Linked DNA regions of Homo sapiens: regions 1, 2, 4, 5, 6 and 7 are each linked to region 3. The links are contacts of gene promoters, found by promoter capture Hi-C in blood cells and fetal thymus (Javierre and others, 2016). All regions are on one chromosome and are shown on one strand. Each heading gives the region's core, a stretch centred on a gene start or on the middle of the fragment in contact. The rest is flanking DNA. Distances are from core to core; before and after follow the strand shown. Region 1 overlaps PLXDC2 (plexin domain containing 2). Region 2 overlaps PLXDC2 (plexin domain containing 2). Region 3 holds the start of PLXDC2 (plexin domain containing 2). Region 4 overlaps PLXDC2 (plexin domain containing 2). Region 5 overlaps PLXDC2 (plexin domain containing 2). Region 6 overlaps PLXDC2 (plexin domain containing 2). Region 7 overlaps PLXDC2 (plexin domain containing 2).

What was found. The method cuts DNA at HindIII sites, captures the fragments that hold promoters and counts their contacts. A CHiCAGO score of 5 or more calls a contact.
Region 1: a fragment that was not itself captured here is called in contact with the fragment with the promoter of PLXDC2 in region 3 in 2 of 17 cell types (M2 macrophages and monocytes); the score reaches 6.6 in M2 macrophages.
Region 2: a fragment that was not itself captured here is called in contact with the fragment with the promoter of PLXDC2 in region 3 in 1 of 17 cell types (M2 macrophages); the score reaches 5.3 in M2 macrophages.
Region 4: a contact is called between a fragment that was not itself captured here and the fragment with the promoter of PLXDC2 in region 3, in 2 of 17 cell types (M2 macrophages and M0 macrophages). The highest score is 7.8, in M2 macrophages.
Region 5: a contact is called between a fragment that was not itself captured here and the fragment with the promoter of PLXDC2 in region 3, in 4 of 17 cell types (neutrophils, M0 macrophages, monocytes and 1 more). The highest score is 6.3, in neutrophils.
Region 6: a fragment that was not itself captured here is called in contact with the fragment with the promoter of PLXDC2 in region 3 in 4 of 17 cell types (M2 macrophages, neutrophils, monocytes and 1 more); the score reaches 7.9 in M2 macrophages.
Region 7: a fragment that was not itself captured here is called in contact with the fragment with the promoter of PLXDC2 in region 3 in 2 of 17 cell types (M2 macrophages and neutrophils); the score reaches 7.3 in M2 macrophages.

Annotation. Positions count from the first base shown.
Region 1 is chr10:20,074,233-20,076,932 of GRCh38, forward strand. All of the region lies in intron 4 of PLXDC2 (plexin domain containing 2), which reads left to right. Among named protein-coding and RNA genes, the nearest start is that of PLXDC2, 260 kb to the left of the region's middle. The HindIII fragment of the contact is 4,019 bases long and covers 1-2,700 here.
Region 2 is chr10:20,129,867-20,132,566 of GRCh38, forward strand. All of the region lies in intron 4 of PLXDC2 (plexin domain containing 2), which reads left to right. Among named protein-coding and RNA genes, the nearest start is that of PLXDC2, 310 kb to the left of the region's middle. The HindIII fragment of the contact is 1,306 bases long and covers 719-2,024 here.
Region 3 is chr10:19,815,048-19,817,779 of GRCh38, forward strand. PLXDC2 (plexin domain containing 2) reads left to right here and starts at 1,385. Exons shown (of 14, transcript NM_032812.9): 1 at 1,385-2,144. The coding sequence starts at 2,033. LOC124902388 (a long non-coding RNA gene) reads right to left here and starts at 1,181. Exons shown (of 2, transcript XR_007062078.1): 1 at 1-1,181. RefSeq lists an enhancer at 309-1,074. The HindIII fragment of the contact is 8,470 bases long and covers 1-2,434 here.
Region 4 is chr10:20,186,724-20,189,423 of GRCh38, forward strand. The region is part of intron 9 of PLXDC2 (plexin domain containing 2); the gene reads left to right. Among named protein-coding and RNA genes, the nearest start is that of MIR4675, 360 kb to the right of the region's middle. The HindIII fragment of the contact is 1,157 bases long and covers 869-2,025 here.
Region 5 is chr10:20,205,730-20,208,544 of GRCh38, forward strand. The region is part of intron 9 of PLXDC2 (plexin domain containing 2); the gene reads left to right. Among named protein-coding and RNA genes, the nearest start is that of MIR4675, 340 kb to the right of the region's middle. The HindIII fragment of the contact is 1,505 bases long and covers 566-2,070 here.
Region 6 is chr10:20,149,372-20,152,071 of GRCh38, forward strand. All of the region lies in intron 6 of PLXDC2 (plexin domain containing 2), which reads left to right. Among named protein-coding and RNA genes, the nearest start is that of PLXDC2, 330 kb to the left of the region's middle. The HindIII fragment of the contact is 5,641 bases long and covers 1-2,700 here.
Region 7 is chr10:20,167,025-20,169,815 of GRCh38, forward strand. The region is part of intron 7 of PLXDC2 (plexin domain containing 2); the gene reads left to right. Among named protein-coding and RNA genes, the nearest start is that of PLXDC2, 350 kb to the left of the region's middle. The HindIII fragment of the contact is 4,412 bases long and covers 1-2,791 here.

The DNA.
Region 1 (2,700 bases), core at 94-2,593, 260 kb after region 3:
ATTTCATAAGAAAGCTGTTTAAATTTTAGCTCTATTTTATTTCATTTGCTACGTAAAAGATTAAAATGTTTATTAAGTAATACCTGTACATATCTGAAAAACTAATAACGTGGACATTTAACAAGTCAAACAGGCAAAAGTAAAATGTAAATCTCCCTTCTTCCTTTGTCTCTTAGTTCACCAGTTTCCCTCCCAAAAAAAAATACCTTACTTTTTGAGGTATGGTATATTAAAATTCAAACTTAGAGTAGTTTCCTATATCTGGCCAATAATCATTAGCTTTTTTTCTGTTTAAATTCCCACTAAGAGAGATTTTTTAAAAATATTAATGCATTTTATCTTCATTAGCTTTTCAGGAAATATATTACCAAATCTCCCTGCTCCTTTTTTGTTCTGGCTTTCAAATGGTAATATTTTAATTGTAGTCCCAAATAATATTTCATACTCTTTATAGGGACTTGATTAATAACAGGAATAAAAGGCTTTTTAGGAGAGGAAGATAGTTATTACTCATGATGATTGATTTGTAAATACCAACAACATCTTCTTTCAAGTGTATAACCCCATAAAACAAAGCATGGTGTATCCATTAACTTTCTGCATCTAGGGAGAAGGTGAATGGAGTTGTTTTGTATTATTATTATTATTAACAGAGATCACAGGTTATGGTAATCTGGAGATCTATGTGTTATGGAAGATACTAAAGAGATAGATGCTGGATGAAAGTAAATTCATTCCAACTTGCTTCAATGATTTAAAGTTACAAACTCAAGTCTCAAGGATTCCTAGAGAGAAAGATGAATTGCGTGATGTCTGATCTGCTGAATCTGAATAATTCTCTGAGATAGACCTCCAAAAACCTGAGAGTTCATCTGAGCTGTCTTCTTTGATAACTTACTCCTCCCTCAAACTGTCTAGTGTCAGCAGTAGATTCAGTAGCTTGACCATTATTATATATTTATTTCTTTATTTTGTAGACAGGATCTCACTCTGTCACCCAAGCTGGAGTGCAGTGGCACAATCACAGCTCACTGCAGCCTTGACCTCCTAGGCTCAAGTGATCCTCCCACTTCAGCTCCCCAAATAGCTGGGACTACAGGCATGCACCACCATGCCTGGCCAATTTTTAGATTTTTTTGTAGAGATGGAGTCTCATTATGTTGTCCAGGCTGATCTCAAACTCCTAGCCTCTAGCAATCCTCCCATCTCAGCCTCCAAAAGTGCTGGGATTACAGGTGTGAGACACTGCGCCAAGCTATGTTGTTTTGTCTTTCACGAATTTCATATTCACAACCACTTGTTTCTCCTGCATGTCTGTCCATACATGCTTTATTTCATTAGCACTGGCTCCTTGTGGCAGGGGTGGGAAGCATAATTGGAAATTAAGCCAGTAGGAGACCCAGAGAGAAAGCACCCAGGAGCAAGAGTTGACTCAATAGGAATCAGCAAGAAAAATACAAGAGACAGAAATATGGGTAGAATGAAGGAGAACAATTAGATGTAAACAAAACTGAGCAGAGCATTGGCACATGATGGATAAGTCATGATTTTAGGACAGGAATGGGGGAAGGTGGATCAGCTGAGACAAGGGTGTGGGTGAAAAACATGGTCTCCAGGCTCATCCCCTTCCATTGCCATAACAGCCACTGAAGTGTCCACTGATTGCTAGTGCTAGAATACTCCCTTACGGATGTTTATACCAGGAAAGCATCATTCATCTTCTTCCAGCACATCCAGGCTTTATTGGAAACACTGGCAATGATATTTTTGCTTGTAGCCTTTCCTAGTCACTGCAGCAGTAATTCAGATAAATAGCAATTTTACACAGATCCTGAAATACATCACCCAATTGAAAATAAAGGGTGTCTAAGTGACTCTGTGCAATTAATAAAGTAACAATATATGCCAGATGCTCTAACATTGTCGAATCCTGGAAAGTAAAGGAAAGAAATAGTAAATAGTGCAGGACTGACATTAGACCCTGGCCATTTCAGAAATGAGTTCAAAAGAGTTCCCTCAATTCCTACTTAAGCCAGAAATTGAGTTGCATTTTCTTAGAGAAGAAGTTAGGCTTCCAGGTTAAGATAAATAGACTTTTGAATCTGAATACTTCAGTTCATAAGCCAAGGCAATCGTAACTGTATGATCTTCAGCAAATGACTTAATCTCTCTGATGTCAGTTTCCTTGCCTATAAAATAGCACAATAAAAATACCTGGTGCATAAATTTGTTGTGATGACTAAATTAATTAACATATGTTAATGATACCTGTTTCATAGAAAATGCTACATAGATAGCATATGCTAATACTGCATTTTTCCCCCACTTACATTTCCTCCTTTATTTCTTTTCAAAGTGCTTTCTCTTTAAGTCCTGTGCTGCCTTTTTAGTTTGTCTGTTGTTTCCTTTGATGACCTCATTCATTAGATTTCTCTCCATAAAGCATAGAAGGGGTCTCAAGGAGTGTTTAGGAACCTAATCCATTGTCATCTCTAACTGCTCCTATTAAAGGCTGGCTCAACCACTGATGTCTGGGAAGTAGAATAGCATGTAAATAACTTGGGATGTCCGCTTGATCACCATGGCTATACCTATCATTTTTTGGTGCTGTTCAGAATCTCTCTAAAGACTGTCCCATGATGACATTTTGGGACTCTGGGACACTGTCTGGAAACCTTACAAAATTTAGCAATTTTGTAA
Region 2 (2,700 bases), core at 122-2,621, 310 kb after region 3:
GTGTGACTGTTTTCATTCCAGAACCATTCTGTTTTGATTTCTGTAGCTTTGTAGTAGATTTTGAAATCAGGTAGTGTGATGCCTCCAGCTTTGTTCTTCTTGCTCAAGATAGCTTTGGCAGTTACAGGCCTTTTGTGGTTCCATATGAATTTCTTGATTTTTTTTTTCTTTTTCTTTGAAAATGCCATTGGGATTTTGATAAGAATTGCATTTAATATGTAGATTGCTTTGGGTCACATGGAAAGTTTAATATTTTTAATTTTCAATTCTTCTCATCTATGATCACAGGATATCATTCCTTTTATTTGTGATTTCTTTAATTTTCTTTCACCAATGCTTCAGTTTACGGATCTTTTATCTCTTTGGATAAAATTATTTCTAAATATTTTAAATTTTGGTGCTATTGTATGTGAGAGTGTTAATTTCTATTTTGGATAGTTTGTTGTTAGTGTATAGAAACACAACTGATTTTCGCATGTTTATTGTGTATCTTGTACTTTCACTGAATTTGTTTATTAATGCCAACAGGTTTTTGGAGGAGTTTTAAGGGTTTTGTATATAGAGCATTATGTCATCTGCAAAGAAAATTTTATTTCTTCCTTTCTGGTTTGTCTTTTATTTCTTTTTTCTTGATTAATTGCTCTGGCTAGAACTTCTAATATTATATTGAATAGAAGTGGCAAGAATGAGTATCCTTATCTTGTTACTAATCCCGAGAAGCTTTTAGCTTTTTATCATTGAGTGTGATACTATATGTGGACTTGTCATACATATTCTTTATTATTTTAAGTTATATTCCATCTATACCTAATTTGTTGAGAGTTTTTATCATGAAAGGATGTTAAATTTTGTCAAATGCTTTTTTGCATATATCGAGATGATCATATAATTTTTAATCTTCATTCTATTAATGTAGTATATCACATTTATTGATTTGTGTATGTTAAAACAAGGATAAAACCCATGTGATCATGGGTAGTGATCCTTTTAATGTGCTGTTGAATTAGATTTTCTATTATTTGGTAAGGATTTCTGCATCTACATTCATCAGGGATATTGACCTGTAGTTTTCTTTTATTGTAACGTTTTCGTCTGACTTTGGTATCCAGGTAATGCTGGCCATGAGAAAAGAGTTTGCAAGTGTTTCTTTCTCTTCAAATTTTTTGGAAGATTTTAAGTAGTATTGGTGTTAAATATCCTTTAAATGTTTGGTAGAATTTACCCCAGTAAAGCCATGAGGTCCTGAGCATCTCTTTGTTTGGAGGTTTTTGATTACTGATTAAGTCTCTTTACTTGTTATTTTTTTTTTTTCAGATTTTCTATTCTGTTTTTTGTTCTGGTTTCTTTTATCCATATTTTCTATTCTATTTAGTGTTTCTGTACTGTTCTGTTCCGACGTGGTAATATGTATGTTTCCAGAAATTTATACACTGCTTCTAGGTTATCGAATTTGTTGGCATATAATTTTTATAGTAGTTTCTTCTGATATTTTATATTTATATGGTATCAATTGTAATCTCTTCTTTCACTTATAATTTTTTTTCTTTTTTGAGACAGAGTTTCACTCTTGTTGCCCAGGCTGGAGTGCAATGGTGCAATCTCAGTGCACTGCAACCTCCGCCTCCTGAGTTCGAGCAATTCTCCTGTCTCAGCCTCCCGAGTAGCTGGAATTATGGGCACATGCCACCATGCCCAGCTAATTTTTGTATTTTTAATAGAGACAGGGTTTCATCATATTGGTCAGGCTGGTCTTGAACTCCTGACCTCAGGTGATCCACCTGCCTCAGCCTCCCAAAGTGCTGGGATTACAGGCGTGAGCCACTGCACCCGGCCACTTACAGTTTTATTATTCTATTTTTTCTTAGTTTAACTAAAAGTTACTCTTTTGTTTATTTAGAAAAAAAACCCAACTCCTAGTTTCATTAATCTTTTGTATTGTTTTTTCTAGTCCCTATATCATTCATATATATTCTGATCTTTTTTATTTCCTTCCTTCTGCTAACTCTTTATTATATCCTTTCTTAAGCTTAGTTTGTTCTTGTTTCCTTGTTCCTTGAGGTGTCATATTAGGTTGCTTTTATGAAATCTTTCTTTTTTCTTCATGTAGGCATTTATTGCTATAAACTTACCCCTTAGGGCTGCTGTTGCTGCATCCCATAAAATTTGGAAAGTTATATTTGCATTTTTGTTTGTCTCAAGATATCTTTTAAGATCACTATTGATTTCTTCTTTGACTCATTGGTTGTTCAGAACTATGTTATTTAATTTTCACATATTTGCAAATGCTTCCAATTTTCCTCCTCTTATTGATTTCTAATTTCATTTCATCGTGGTCTGAAAAGATACTTGGTATTACTTAAATCTTCTTAAATCTGTGAAGACTTTTATTTGACCTAACGTGGATCTATCCTAACAAATATTCCATGTGCATTTGTAAAGAATGTATATTCTGCTGCTGTTGGATGAAACGTTCTATATATCTCTGTTAAATTCATTTGGTCTTCAGTCTTGTTCGTGTCTTCTGTATACTTATGGATTGTTTTTGTCTGGATGACCTATCCACTGCTGAAGGTGGCAATATTGAAGTCCTCTACTATTATTGTATTGGTGAACTATTTCTCCTTTTAGCTCTCTTAATATTTGCTTTATATATTTATGTTCTTAATATTGAGGGCATAACTATTTACAATTTTATGTCCT
Region 3 (2,732 bases), core at 135-2,634:
ACATTTATTATGTGATTGAAGTCGTCTTCTCTCACTTTTGCTTCAGTAAACACTTAAACAAAGCCATGTACTTTGCGGTAGGCAATGTTCTATATTTATTAAATATACAGTTAACTCATCCAATCCATTGCAACCACCTTATAAGGGCGTTACTCTAATTCTCTCCATTTGATGGATGGATAACTGAGGCTAGGAGATAAACTGCTCATTGCGGGGGAGGTGAAATTCCAGCCCAGGCTGTCCGGGCTCTAGATCCTGTACTTTTAACCAATAGCGCTTTGCTTCTTTTCCTTGTATTTATCCCTTTCAAAAATGATTAACTGTATGCAAAATAAGATATCAACTAACGAGAGGGCCGGCAAGGGTTAACGCGGAAACAGATCCCCGAGCTGAAAAAACAAAAACAAACTGGGGAGCCAGAGCCCCTGAAAGCTCCGGTAGGAAATTCAATGGGCCTCCTGTTCCTTTAAACTCTCGCTTTCGCCCCCGCTGACACTTTGCAAAGCCGCGGCGGCAGCGGCGGGGACCACGCTGCGGTGCACCACCTTCCGCCACCCTCCCGCGCTGGGCTGGGGTCGAGGGGGCTTCGCAGAGTCGGTAACCGAACCGGCTCTGGTTTGCTTTCTCCACTCCCTAGCCACTACCAGAACCAGCCTCCGCGAAGGGGCGAGCTGTGGTTAACCCTTTCGTGCCCAGGGAGACCCCGCCAGGGTCGGGGCGGGGCGCGATCGCCCCCCGCAGTCGGGCGCGAAGGCGGCCCGGGAGCCAGGTGGGTGTGGGGCGCAGTTGGCGGAGCTGCCCAGGGCGTGCGAGCAGGCTGCGAGGATGGCGCCCCGGCGGCGCGGAGGTACCGCCCCGCGCTCCCCCGATAGCTCCCCGGCCTGTCCCCTCTCCCCGCGCTCTGGGGCAGCCGGCTGCCTGGGGCGCACGGGGCTGGAGTGGCCCTCTCCCTCCCCTTCGCTAGGCTCCCCCGGCTTAATCTGTTGGCCGCGACTCCTCAGCCAGCCCCGAGGAAAGTGCAGCCATTGGACAGGTCTGTGCGGGCTGCCGGTTTCAGGGAGGAAGGTGGGAGAAGCCTGGAGGAGCGAAGGGGAGGGCGGAGGGAGGAGGGAGGAGGGTGCGGCGGCAGATCTGGCAAATTGCGAGCTGCCTTCCCTCCTCAAAGTGTGGAGAAGGAGCGCGGGGGAGCGTGGCGACGGCAGCGCCTCCTCCGCCACCAAACTCCTGGGGCTCCGCGGGGGCTTGGGGCCACCTCCTCCTGAGCCCGGAGGAACCCTCTCCCGATAGGTTCCAGCGTGACTCCCTCCCACTCCACCCTTTTCCTTTCTTCTTCCTCTTTTTTTTTTTTTTTTTTAAACACATTTTTTTCCTGGCTTCGGACCTCAGACTGCTGCAGCCCTAACCTTCCCAGGGCTCAGCTCTTTGGAGCTGCCCATTCCTCCGGCTGCGAGAAAGGACGCGCGCCCTGCGTCGGGCGAAGAAAAGAAGCAAAACTTGTCGGGAGGGTTTCGTCATCAACCTCCTTCCCGCAAACCTAAACCTCCTGCCGGGGCCATCCCTAGACAGAGGAAAGTTCCTGCAGAGCCGACCAGCCCTAGTGGATCTGGGGCAGGCAGCGGCGCTGGCTGTGGAATTAGATCTGTTTTGAACCCAGTGGAGCGCATCGCTGGGGCTCGGAAGTCACCGTCCGCGGGCACCGGGTTGGCGCTGCCCGAGTGGAACCGACAGTTTGCGAGCCTCGGCTGCAAGTGGCCTCTCCTCCCCGCGGTTGTTGTTCAGTGTCGGGTGAGGGCTGCGAGTGTGGCAAGTTGCAAAGAGAGCCTCAGAGGTCCGAAGAGCGCTGCGCTCCTACTCGCGTTCGCTTCTTCCTCTTCTCGGTTCCCTACTGTGAAATCGCAGCGACATTTACAAAGGCCTCCGGGTCCTACCGAGACCGATCCGCAGCGTTTGGCCCGGTCGTGCCTATTGCATCGGGAGCCCCCGAGCACCGGCGAAGGACTGGCGGGTGGGGTAGGGAGGTGGCGGCGGCGGCATGGCGAGGTTCCCGAAGGCCGACCTGGCCGCTGCAGGAGTTATGTTACTTTGCCACTTCTTCACGGACCAGTTTCAGTTCGCCGATGGGAAACCCGGAGACCAAATCCTTGGTAAGTAAGATGCACTTTAGCTTGCTGATTTTGTGCGCAGCTGAAGACCTCTCTGGCACTCTCGTGCTCCCTACCCTCTCCCCCCAACATCACCTATCTGCCCTTGGGAAACTTATTGCAGTTGCTTTTCGGCTAAACTTAGGCTTCCCAAATGGGGAAAGAGGGTTATCAAGAGAAGGACGCCGGGGACTAGGGGTTTTCTTGAGGCTTTCGGGCTTACTTCACCTGGGCGGCAGGGGGTGGTACTGTCTCCCCAAAGTAGCCCAGGGAGGGCTTCAGTGTGAGAGCAAAGCTTCTTCCGTGGATACATCTCCTAGGACCTGGCATCTCCAGGCTGTGTGCTCTCCGGCTCCTCCTCCTTCCTCGCTGCTGGTTAAACTAAGCGTGTGTGGTATGGGGTGGGTGGGGGACGTTGTGAAAGCCAGGGATTGCAGGTCTCCCCTCTGCACGAGAAAATTCCCTGTGGCAGCACCTTCCTTCCCCTGGCGATCCCCACTAGCTCCGTCTAGTGACCTGGGCCAAGCGGGCGCTGGAAGGGGGGCGGGGTAAATGCGGCCGGCGCAGAGGTGGGGAGCAGGTGGGAAAGGT
Region 4 (2,700 bases), core at 197-2,696, 370 kb after region 3:
GCTCCTGCAAAGGACATGATCTTCTTCTTTTTTTATGGCTGCGTAGTATTCCATCATGTATATGTACCATGTTTTCTTTATCCAGTCTACCATTGATGGGCATTTACATTGATTTCACGTCTTTGCTATTGTGAATAGTGCTGCAATGAATATATGTGTGCATGTATCTTTATTCTAGTAGGATTTATATTCCTTTGGGTATATACCCAGTAATGGGATTGCAGGGTCAAATGGTGTATTCTATAGTAAGTGTATTTGGCTTTCTGTGTCAGGAGGTACTCAGCTGCCGGGTACCTGAGGTTGAGGAGCATTCAAAAGTTGAGGAAGCATTCCTGAGTTATTCAAAAGATTCAAAAAAAAATCCCAAGAATACTATGGGAAAGGAGGCCATATTTTATGACCTTAGGTGAATTACGTGGAAATGTCTGGTTGGATACCTAGTGGCACAGCCAGCAATAAACAATCTCACCTTGAACAAAGCAATAAAGCCTGCTTACTCTGTATCCCAGAATGGAAAATACATCTGGCCTCTAGATATATCAGATTCTGATATTCCTTAAAGCTGAATGGACCCAATTTCAGTAGTTCTCAAAATTTCTTTTTTGTAGATCTTTTTGCTTTTATTATCTTTAATTGACATAACAATTATACACATTTATAGGGTACAGTGTGATATTTTAATACAGGTATACAATGTATAATGATCAAATCAATATAATTAACATATCAATCACCTTAAACATTTAGTATGTCTTGGTGTTAGGAACGTTTAAAATCTGCTCTTCTATTGTATATTTGAAAATATACAATAAATTGTTAATTACAGTTATTGACATAACTGTAATTCCTAGCACATAATTTACTTCAAAGCTTTTTGCAGGTCTTCTTAATGGGTAAGGCTGCATGTCTGACTCAGAAATGGATAGAAAATAAATGCTTTAGCTTTTAGAAAACATCATCAAAATCTTAATTAGGATGTTCCTATTAAGAAATGTAAAATAGTCATCTTTTCACTTTTCTGGGGGATAGCTTTTAACAAAAGTGAAAAATCAGAATCGATCTCGATGACACTTTCATAATTTTCTTACAGAAATATTAAAAGAGCTGGGTTGAGTGTAAACATGTATTTTAAATGTCTTTCTATATTTTAACATTACGTTCCCCACAAAACAAATAACTAAACTGTAAACTATTTTTGAAAAGTGTTCTCATTTACCATCATATCAGCCATTTCAATAGAAAACTGTTAATCTAAAGTTCTTTTTATATTCAATACTCAATTAAATATATATTTCATAGAGAAGTACATAATAGATGCTGTTCATCCAGTGATAATAAAAGGATATTTGACTCGTTTCCCCCCAACTCATATAAGTGTAAATAAATGTGAATGTTATTAAATATATACTAAATATGTGTTATTAAATATATATTAAAATAGTTAAAAGTTAATTGCCCAAAAATAGAACACTAGAACTTATTCCTTCTATCGGGCTGTACTTTGTATTCATTAACAAACTTTTCAGTATCTCCCCCTTTCCCCATCCTTTCTTACCCCTAGTAGCCATTATCCTATTCTCTACTTCTATGAAATCAACATTTTTAGCTTCCATGTGTGTGAGAACATGCGGTACTCATCTTTCTGTGTCTGGCTTATTTCACAGCATAATATTAATATTAATACAGTTAAGAATTGGCACAGAATTTTGTCAAGATGCAGATTGCTCTACAGCTCACTAAAGATTCATATTCAGTAGGTCCAAAGTGGATCCCAGGGATTTGGCTTTTTAATAAGCCTTTTTGGGGAATGCTGAGGTAGTCTAGGACTAGGGCAGTAGAAATGCTGATCTTGTATGTCTGAGCTAAGGGGCCTGGAAGCTGCAGTGATTTTGCCTAAGTTGTATGGAAGCACTTATTCATCCTTAATATGGAACTGAGAAATATTATAGAAAAAATCTGTAGATATATTTATTATTAAAACATATTAAGAGCTAATGAAGTTGAGCCTGATAAAAGAAAGTAAGAAGCTTTTGAATAAGTGTAGTGTATATGATAAATAAATCAGAAGATTTTAGAATGTTGTGAACTAGTTAAAAAGATTGGAACTTTCTTTAGTTCTGAGTTGATATTAAATTATTGCTATCCAAGTGGTAATCAGTGTTTTAAAGAAATTTAAGGAGGTTCTAAAAATGCCATACAACTAAGATGGTTGTTTTTAGCTTACAATGCTATAAGAGATAAATTGAACTTTGAATTTATTTTAGTACAAGACCTTTTATAATCAGTTTTTTTTTTCAAATTTTAATGAAGAATCTTCGCTTTTCTATTAAGCTGCTTGTCCTGAAATATAGCATAAACAAGATTGTCTTTTAAGAATGCAAAGTAAAAGTTTATTTTTACCTCCTTTTAAGCCTTCCAAACCTGAGTTTAACAAAAGTGTACTAATTATTTTTGTGTGGATTAAATATAATAATACAGTGAGGTATGATGTTATTTTATCCATAACATAAAAGCATTTTGAAATATATTTTGATGTAAATAATGCTTTTGAAAAAAATACATAAGGTACTAATAACAGGGCTTCCCTTTGGAGAACCTGTCATGAATTGGAAACTGGCATAAAGAGAAATACGTATTACCATTTCATCATAATCAGATCTTTGAAAGATTTGAATTTTTACCACACACACATATTGTGTA
Region 5 (2,815 bases), core at 68-2,567, 390 kb after region 3:
TAACAGTTACTTAATCTTTACTAGACAAATACTGAACTTTTAATCCTTATATAACCTCCCCCACCTCATCTTACAGATGAGGAAACAGGCTTAGAAAGGGAAAATAAGAGTACAACATTTCAGTTAGGAGGAATAAGTTTCTTGAGATATATTGCACAACACAGTGAGTATAGCATATTGTATCTTTTGTATTTTTGTGTATTTTTGCTGTACCTATCTATTATATATTGCATATAATGACTATATTGTATATATAGTGTAGTTTATGTTTCAAAATTGCTTAGACGGTAAATGTCAAATGTTCTTATCACAAAAAGATCAGTATCTGAGATGACGGCTATATTAATTAGCTTTATGTAATCTTTTCACATTACATACATATATCATAATATCACACTGTACCTCATAAATGTATACAATTATAATATGTCAACATGCAATACAATCATTCAAAAAAAAAGAAAAATAACTTATCTAAGATCACACACCTTTTTTGTGACCAAGCCAAAATACTAACTCAAACAATTGGATTCCAAAGCCTCACTTTTAATCATGTTCTCCTGAAAGCTTTGTAAGATAAACTCAAAAGCAGCCAATTGTAGTATAATAGTGGACATTTGCACTTGGTGTTGGGGGGTCTCTGAGCAAGGGTTGCTGAATCTGCTGGGTGGAAGGAGAAGGAGCTATTTCTTGGAGGAGATTGGGGTTGATTTGGATTGGGTTTGCCAGTTGGGTAGGCCAGCCGTATGTAATAGTGTGTTCAAAGGTAGAGTCATGAAAGAGCACAGCACCTTCGGGGAAGGGAAAAGAATTTGCTGTGCTTAGAGCAAAAGGAGGGTATGAATGGGTTGTAGAGCATGGGCTACAGGAGTGAGCAAGAGGCCTGAATATATTGTAGAGGAGGTCAGAGTGGTAAGAATCCCCTGAAGGTGTTTATTTACAATAAAAATTGCTGAGTTCCAATTGCCAGAGAATCTTACTCAGTTAGACCTATGAATTTGCATTTGGACAGGCATCTCAGGTAATTCCAATGTGGGAGAGCCTCTTTGTGAATCACCGTTAAAAATGTTGGAAAACAATGTGCTGGATAGTGATATGGTTAATGTCATTGTGCTTTGAAACACACACACACACACACACACACAGACACACACACACACAGCACCTCAGTGGGGACAGGAAGCTGTTCTCAAAAGTGATTTTGGTTTATTTAGAATTCAGAAATAATATCAAGGTGTCTTTTCCTAGTGGTTTATACAACTGTCTCTCACACACACATTCTTGTGCTTATAATTGCTTTTCGATGCCATTTAGATTACTGGCCTCTAAAAAATGCTAAAATGGCTGGATCCAGTTTTATTCATTTTTAAGGCACTATATGCCACAAAAAGTATGAGCTTTTCAAACCAAATCTCACTTGTTTTGCCATTCTCAGTCCTTTCCATTCTAGCCCTTAGTAAATTTCAATTAATAAGAAATTCTTGTCTTAAATAAATGATGAATTACTTAATTGATTTATATTTTCAGTAAAACTTAATTTCACACAACATAATTGGGGGATTAATTAATAAATCAAACAAACTGCATTTCTGCACTTTTCCCTGGGATTAATTTAATAATTTAAAGGACTAATTATTCCAAGGTAAAATTTCAGTTGATATGCAAATTTAAGATTTGGCACCGTCTTGTTAAAATATAAGGTAAAAGTTTGTACATCCCATTGGCTTTGGATACATTTGAAACAGAATAAGTGAAAACAAACCGTGCTTTAAGAACGATCTGTTCCATTGAATTACTTATGGTTATGGTCAGGTGGCTCCCAAGAAAATGTTTTTTTCTTCTGTAGAAAATTGATACATCCCCATCTTCCAAAACAGAATGTCAGTACATTCTTCAATGTTTAAACAAACTCAAAAGGAAAATATAGGAGGGAGCACTCATCTAACTCATCTGGAATTAAATAGACTCCACACATCAAAATCTCATTGGGTAAGCAGAGATGGCCTTGACCAACTGGGGATTCTCAAATTTAGGATGCCAAATCCCACACTGATGTTTACTCCACACTTAAGCTTGTTCAACACAGATGGTAGGCATAAAATAGCTTAACTTCAATGGATCATGCCCTGAGAGAATGAGAGATTGTCTTCTGTGTTGACAGGAGGGTTGTTTTCACATTCCACTTGAATTAAATTATACTTGTTCATCCCATGGTGCATAATCTCTGGCAAGGGTTCTTAGAAAGAGCTATCATGTGGACTCATTGCAAAACAAGTTAAAAATAATAAAAAAAAGAAAGATTGCAAAGTAATGCTTTGAGCACTGTAAGAAAATATAAGGCAAAAGTTGAACAGCTTCCATTTATTTTGAAAAATATATAGATATCTATTTAGAGTAATATAATTAACATGGATTTTTGTATATTATATATAGATATATTGTATTAGTCCATTTTTCACACTTCTGATAAAGACATATCTTAGACTGGGTAATTTATAAAGAAAAAGACATTTAATGGACTCACAATTTCCCATGGCTAGGGAGGCCTCACAATCATGGTGGAAGGCAAAAGACACATCTTACATGGTGCAGACAAGAAAGAATGAGAGCCAGGCAAAAGGGGAAACCCCATATAAAGCCATCAGATCTTGTGAGACTTATTTACTACCATGAGAACAGTATGGGGGAAACTGCCCCTATGATTAGATTATCTCCCACTGGGTCCCTCCCACAACACAGGGAAATTATGGGAGCTGAAATTCAAGATGAGATTTGTGTGGGGACACAGCCAAAGTATATCATATATGTTTATATG
Region 6 (2,700 bases), core at 42-2,541, 330 kb after region 3:
GGGATTACAGGCATGCACCACCATGCCCAGCTAATTTTTGTATTTTTAGTAGAGACGGGGTTTCTCCATGTTGATCAGGCTGGTCTTGAACGCCCTACCTCAGGTGATCCTCCTGCCTCGGCCTCCCAAAGTGCTGGGATTACAGGCGTGAGCCACTGCGCCCGGCCGATAGTTATTTTTTCTGATCTTCTCCCTCCTCTCACCTTCCACTCTCAAGTAGGCCCCAGTGTCTGTTGTTCCCTTCTTTGGCCCATGCATTCTCATCATTTAGCTCCCACTTATAAGTGAGAACATTTGGTATTTGGTTTTCCATTCCTGCATTAGTTTGCTAAGGATAATGGCCTCCAGCTCCATCCAGGTCCCTACAGAAGACATGATCTCATTTCTTTTATGGCCTCATAGTATTCCATGGTGTATATGTACCTGGTTTTCTTTATCCAGTCTATCATTGGTGGGCATTTAGGTTGATTCCATGTCCTTGCTATTATAAATAGTGCTGCAATTAACATACATATGTATGTGTCTGTGTGGCAGAATGATTTACTTATTCTTTTAATTAATAGAGTTTACTTTTTTAGAGTAGTTTTAGATTCACAGAAAATGATGCAGAAAATACACAGAGTTTGAACATACTCTTCTTGTCCTGCTGAACATCCTCCCCCATCATCGACATACCCCACCAGAATGGTACATTTGTTGCAATAGATGAACCTACATTGACATTGACACATCAATGTCACTCAGAGTTCTTAGATTAGAGTTCCCTCTTGATGCTGTACTTTCTAAGGGTTTTAAGGATGTATAATGTCATGCATCCATCATTATGGTGTCCTACAGAATCTTCCCTGCCCTAAAAATTTTCTTTGTTCTACCCAGTTTTTTGTTTCAATAGGTTTTGGGGAAATAGGTGGTGTTTGGTTACATGGATTTACATTCCTTTGGTTATATACCCAGTAATGGGATTGCTGGCCTGAATGTAGTTTTACTGGTGAGGTTGTGGAGAAAAGGGAATGCTTATACACTGCTGGTGGGAGTGTAAATTAGTTCAGCTACTGGGGAAAGCAGTGTGGCGATTCCTCAAAGAAATAACATCAGGGCTGTGTTTTTATATCAGAGCCCACTATATTTTTATGTCACACTCCCTGGAAGCTGAGAGAATAGTTCTCAAAAGGACTTATTCATTTCTAGTTTTCATTGCAATCTAGTATATTGCTGTAACTGCACAGTGACGTTTTGCAATGTTCATTTTCAACGGTTTGAACCAACACTGGTCAAGTCTCTGTAAAGACGCAAGGTCAGTAAGTTTGGAGACTTAGGTCTCACCACCTGGAGGCTTTGTCAAAACAGAAATTTGTGTTCTTATTGTGGCTTCGCTTGCTAGTCTTTATTATTGAAATTGTCATCTTTCTTTACGCTGTTCTCAAAGGTGTCTCACATTGCAGAATTCTTCCTTTTCTCTGTTCTTGGTTGGTATTTTTAAAGGCCTTTTCTTTTCTTCATTTTAATCAAAGAAAAAAGTTCCACTATGGTTTTCCTGTTTTGTTATGGGGAATTTCAAGATGACAGGCAAATTTAATGTTTTCTTGATATTCCCAGGCTCTTGTCCTGAAGAATGTCTTCCCTCTGCACTTGGAGTTCAAAGAAGTCATTTTTACTTTATTATTTACTTTACTTTATTATTTGCCTTTCTGTTCTTTCTTTGTTCTCGATACAAAGCAGTTTCTACTTTTCTAGTCTACCACTTTTTGCTTCCCAATAATTGTTATGTATTTTATTTTGCTAAGGCAAATTGTTATTTGTAAAATTTGTCGTAAGAGAGTCCCCTTGCATTTGAGGTGAGAGCTAGAAGCTCCTGGCACTGCTGGAAAAATATTCCTAATCACATGATAGCATAAAATAGTAGTTTGCGTAATGTATTACCACTTACAAAGTACTTTCACATGCATTATAGCATTTAATTCCTCAATAGTTTCCTACAGCTTTAATATCCTAAGTATTTTACAATAGCGGTGGTACATAGAAGCTGTTCAATAAATGTTTATGACTTAATTTTGGAAATAGATCATACATGATTATCTTCATTTTATAGCTGAGCAGGGTAAGTCAGAGAGATTAAATGACATACTTGAGGTCACAGAGCTAGTTAAGAATAAATCCAGAATTTAATTTGATGATCCCAAGACATCTCAACCATTTTCTCTGCCTAAAGAGATTATGTAAAACAATTCACAAATCTATGTCTCATTTGTCTTTCCAATAAGCGTTTCTTAATATTGGCTGTTTAACAATCTTGCTTATTAGACTTGTCATATCACACAATTACAAGTATAGATAAGAGAGGTATTCCTACTTCATTTGCAGAACTAACCAAATTCTAAGAGCATATAATTACAAGGAGTAAAATTTTCTGTTCCTGTCCAAGCTAAACTTGCCAAATTATACATAGGGAAGTACGTGTAATTCTTTCTGTAATAAGTTTCTTCTAATAGGCTAACACCAGCTTTGTTTTGTTTCATTATGTTTTATGTGAATGAGAAGAAAAATTCTGATTTACACAAAACCCACCACCAATTTGGGGCTTGTTTTAAAATTGTAAATTTTAATTACCATTAAATTTTACATTAAAATTAGTAATGGATTGAATAAATTTAGTTAAGTAAATTTCATTTTCAATGCCCTCATTCAATTTATCTTAGTATT
Region 7 (2,791 bases), core at 107-2,606, 350 kb after region 3:
ACAATTTGCATACTGGAAAAGCAGTCACATTTTCTGTTAACCTTACTGTTCCATCCTGAGAAAATTAGCCAAGAAGGAATGAAAGATTTGGGTCTCGAGTTCTGCCATTGTTGCTGTTAGATGCGACTATATTTATGCAAGAAAATTAGAATCAATATGTTCTACTTAAAAATCATTTTGGGAACACAAAATTTTATCTCCTTAAAAGTCTCTCCCACATTTATAAAGTATAACTGTGTCTGTTGCATGAGCTTCTGTATAACAAGAGATACACGGTTGCATTGTATTCTCAGCTAACAGAAAGTGCATCTTTATGCCAGAGATTAGGATAACCCAAGATTAGCACAATGCAAGTTATACAAGTACAGTTCTTTTGTGAGAAATAAGTTGATTCCTACAGACCTATGTTACATATTCAACAATCAGAATTTAGACCGATATTAAGTCCTTTTCAAAATTCAGTTCCCTTATTTAGCAACACTCACTATTAGGAATTGTCTTTGTAGGGAATTTAAATACTTTGCCTCTGTTAACTTTTTTACCCCCACCAAGTGGATTTAGGGAACAACTGATTATTATTCTAAGTAGTGAGTAGTTTCATTTCTTCTGTATTCCAAGGTGTGTTACATAGAACCCTGTTCTCATAAGATCAGTTTTCTATTCTATTAATCATTTTAGTTACATAGGTTATATTACCTAAACCTTTGGCTTCATGTAGCCATGGGAACATGGGAATGTGAGCTCAAGCCTGGAAAATAGTATTTCCCAGTAGATCACCATTACTATATCATTCTTATCAGATTTGGTGAAGATTTGGTAAAGCATTCAAAATGCTGTAAAGCAATTTTAATTTATTTATTATTAAAATTTCTCCCTATTCATTCTTCCTCACATCAACAACAAAACACTTGTTTTTCAGTTTTTGAAGACCCCCAAATAGTAAATGATTTCAATGTAAATTTCAAGCATGATTAATTAAAGTAGCTTTATTTTCTTTCATAAAAGATCAGGTGATCTGATAGTTTCAATATCAAAGGGAATTCAGGCATTGTTAGTAAATTGATAAATCCTTCTGAGTTTACAAGAGAAATACCTTTGCTCCCTCAAAAAGAGAGGGAAAAGTATGGTAAAACTAAGACTTATGTTAAAAAAGGTGGAAATTAAAAGTAAAGCAAGTATAAGGAATATTGTCATTTGATTATTGGTCATGAAACATTAAACTTTTAATTGATTTCTGTAACTTTCTTTCTATATAAAATGAGCATCTTAGTACCTAAAAATGCAATGTGTACACAGCATGCATTACCTAGCAGAGAGTAAGTAGTACACTTGTACTTAAAGTTACTGTTTTTTCCATCATCGTTATCACTTTAAAAAACAGCGATACTAACTTAGATGTCACTGCCAAAGCTGAGTGCCCTTCAGAGTGGAACCACAGGAGATTCCCACTAAGAAACACAGTGACAGTGTGTCTCTGGAACTTCAGTGCTTTCTGACTATGTTGATGTGTGTTGTTTTATGTCTCTTCATAAGACTTATGTCTGCCTGTCTGTCCATCTGTATGTCTCGAAATCACTGTTTTTCATAAAATGTATTTGTAAATCTTTAGAAACAGAAAGAACCATAGAAATCAGCTAATTCAACATCCACAGGTACAGCTATGAAAAACAGGTCTAAGTACAGGACTGACTTTGGTTGTTCATTTCAGAAATATGAATGTAAAAATATACTTATTATGATTAGAAGCATAGCACATTATAATTCTGAGTAATTTATAAATTAACAGGAAACCCAAGGAGGAAAATTTAAATTACTTAGAAATCTACTACAGAGAAATAGTAATAAATGTTTTCACGTATCTGTATCCAACTATTTATTTGTAATATACACATATATGAAGATACCCACATTAAGAAAATTGGCATTATGCTGTAAATTATTCTGCCCCCTGTTTTCACCTTCATATATAAAACATATTTTTTACACTGTTAAATATCTGTCTAAAATGTGGTCATTAATAGTTATAAGAAATTTATCTGTTTCATAATTTATGTAACCTGTCACTAAAGAGGTTGGTTACATAGTTTGCATCGCATATTATCAGTAAAATGGTGCTAAACGTCCTTGTTTCTAAATTTTTGCATGTATCTGATTCTCAAAAAGTGAATTTGTGGATACTGAATGTTAATATTGTTTTGAATGTATTTTGACAAATTGCTTTCCATCAAGGTTGTACCAGTTTACTACCCATTGTTATATTAGAAATATCCCATTTCCCAAAGAGCTTTCTAATATTCATTTTTAACTCTGCAAATTTGGTAAGCACGAAATGGTATTTCATTGTTGTCTTTCGATTACCAGAAAGTTTTAACACCGTCATATATTCATGTGTTGTTTGTAATTTCCATAATTTCTTGGTAAATAGCTCTATTAAGTAATTCTTTCTCAGCCTCAGCTTATGTCCTTCCAAATCCTTACACAACATGCAGAGGTCTTCCTGGATACACGCACGATTCTCACTAGTGCCATTTGCACTAATTTGTTTCTCTCTCCTCCAATGTAACATTTTGAATTTCAATCATCATCTGTGGGGTGCTGACTTATCCCATCGGGCCTCACTGTTTCTCTACTTTCCGAGCTTAATGAGCTTAATCCTTCTAGCAAGAAACTCAGAAAATCCACTCATGCCATGTGGTTCTTTAATTTGGAACAGATAAGGCCATGCCACTTAAGTAAAGAGAAAGTTACGTTAACACTCCCATGCAGGGCCTTGCACTAGAAACCAGTCTGG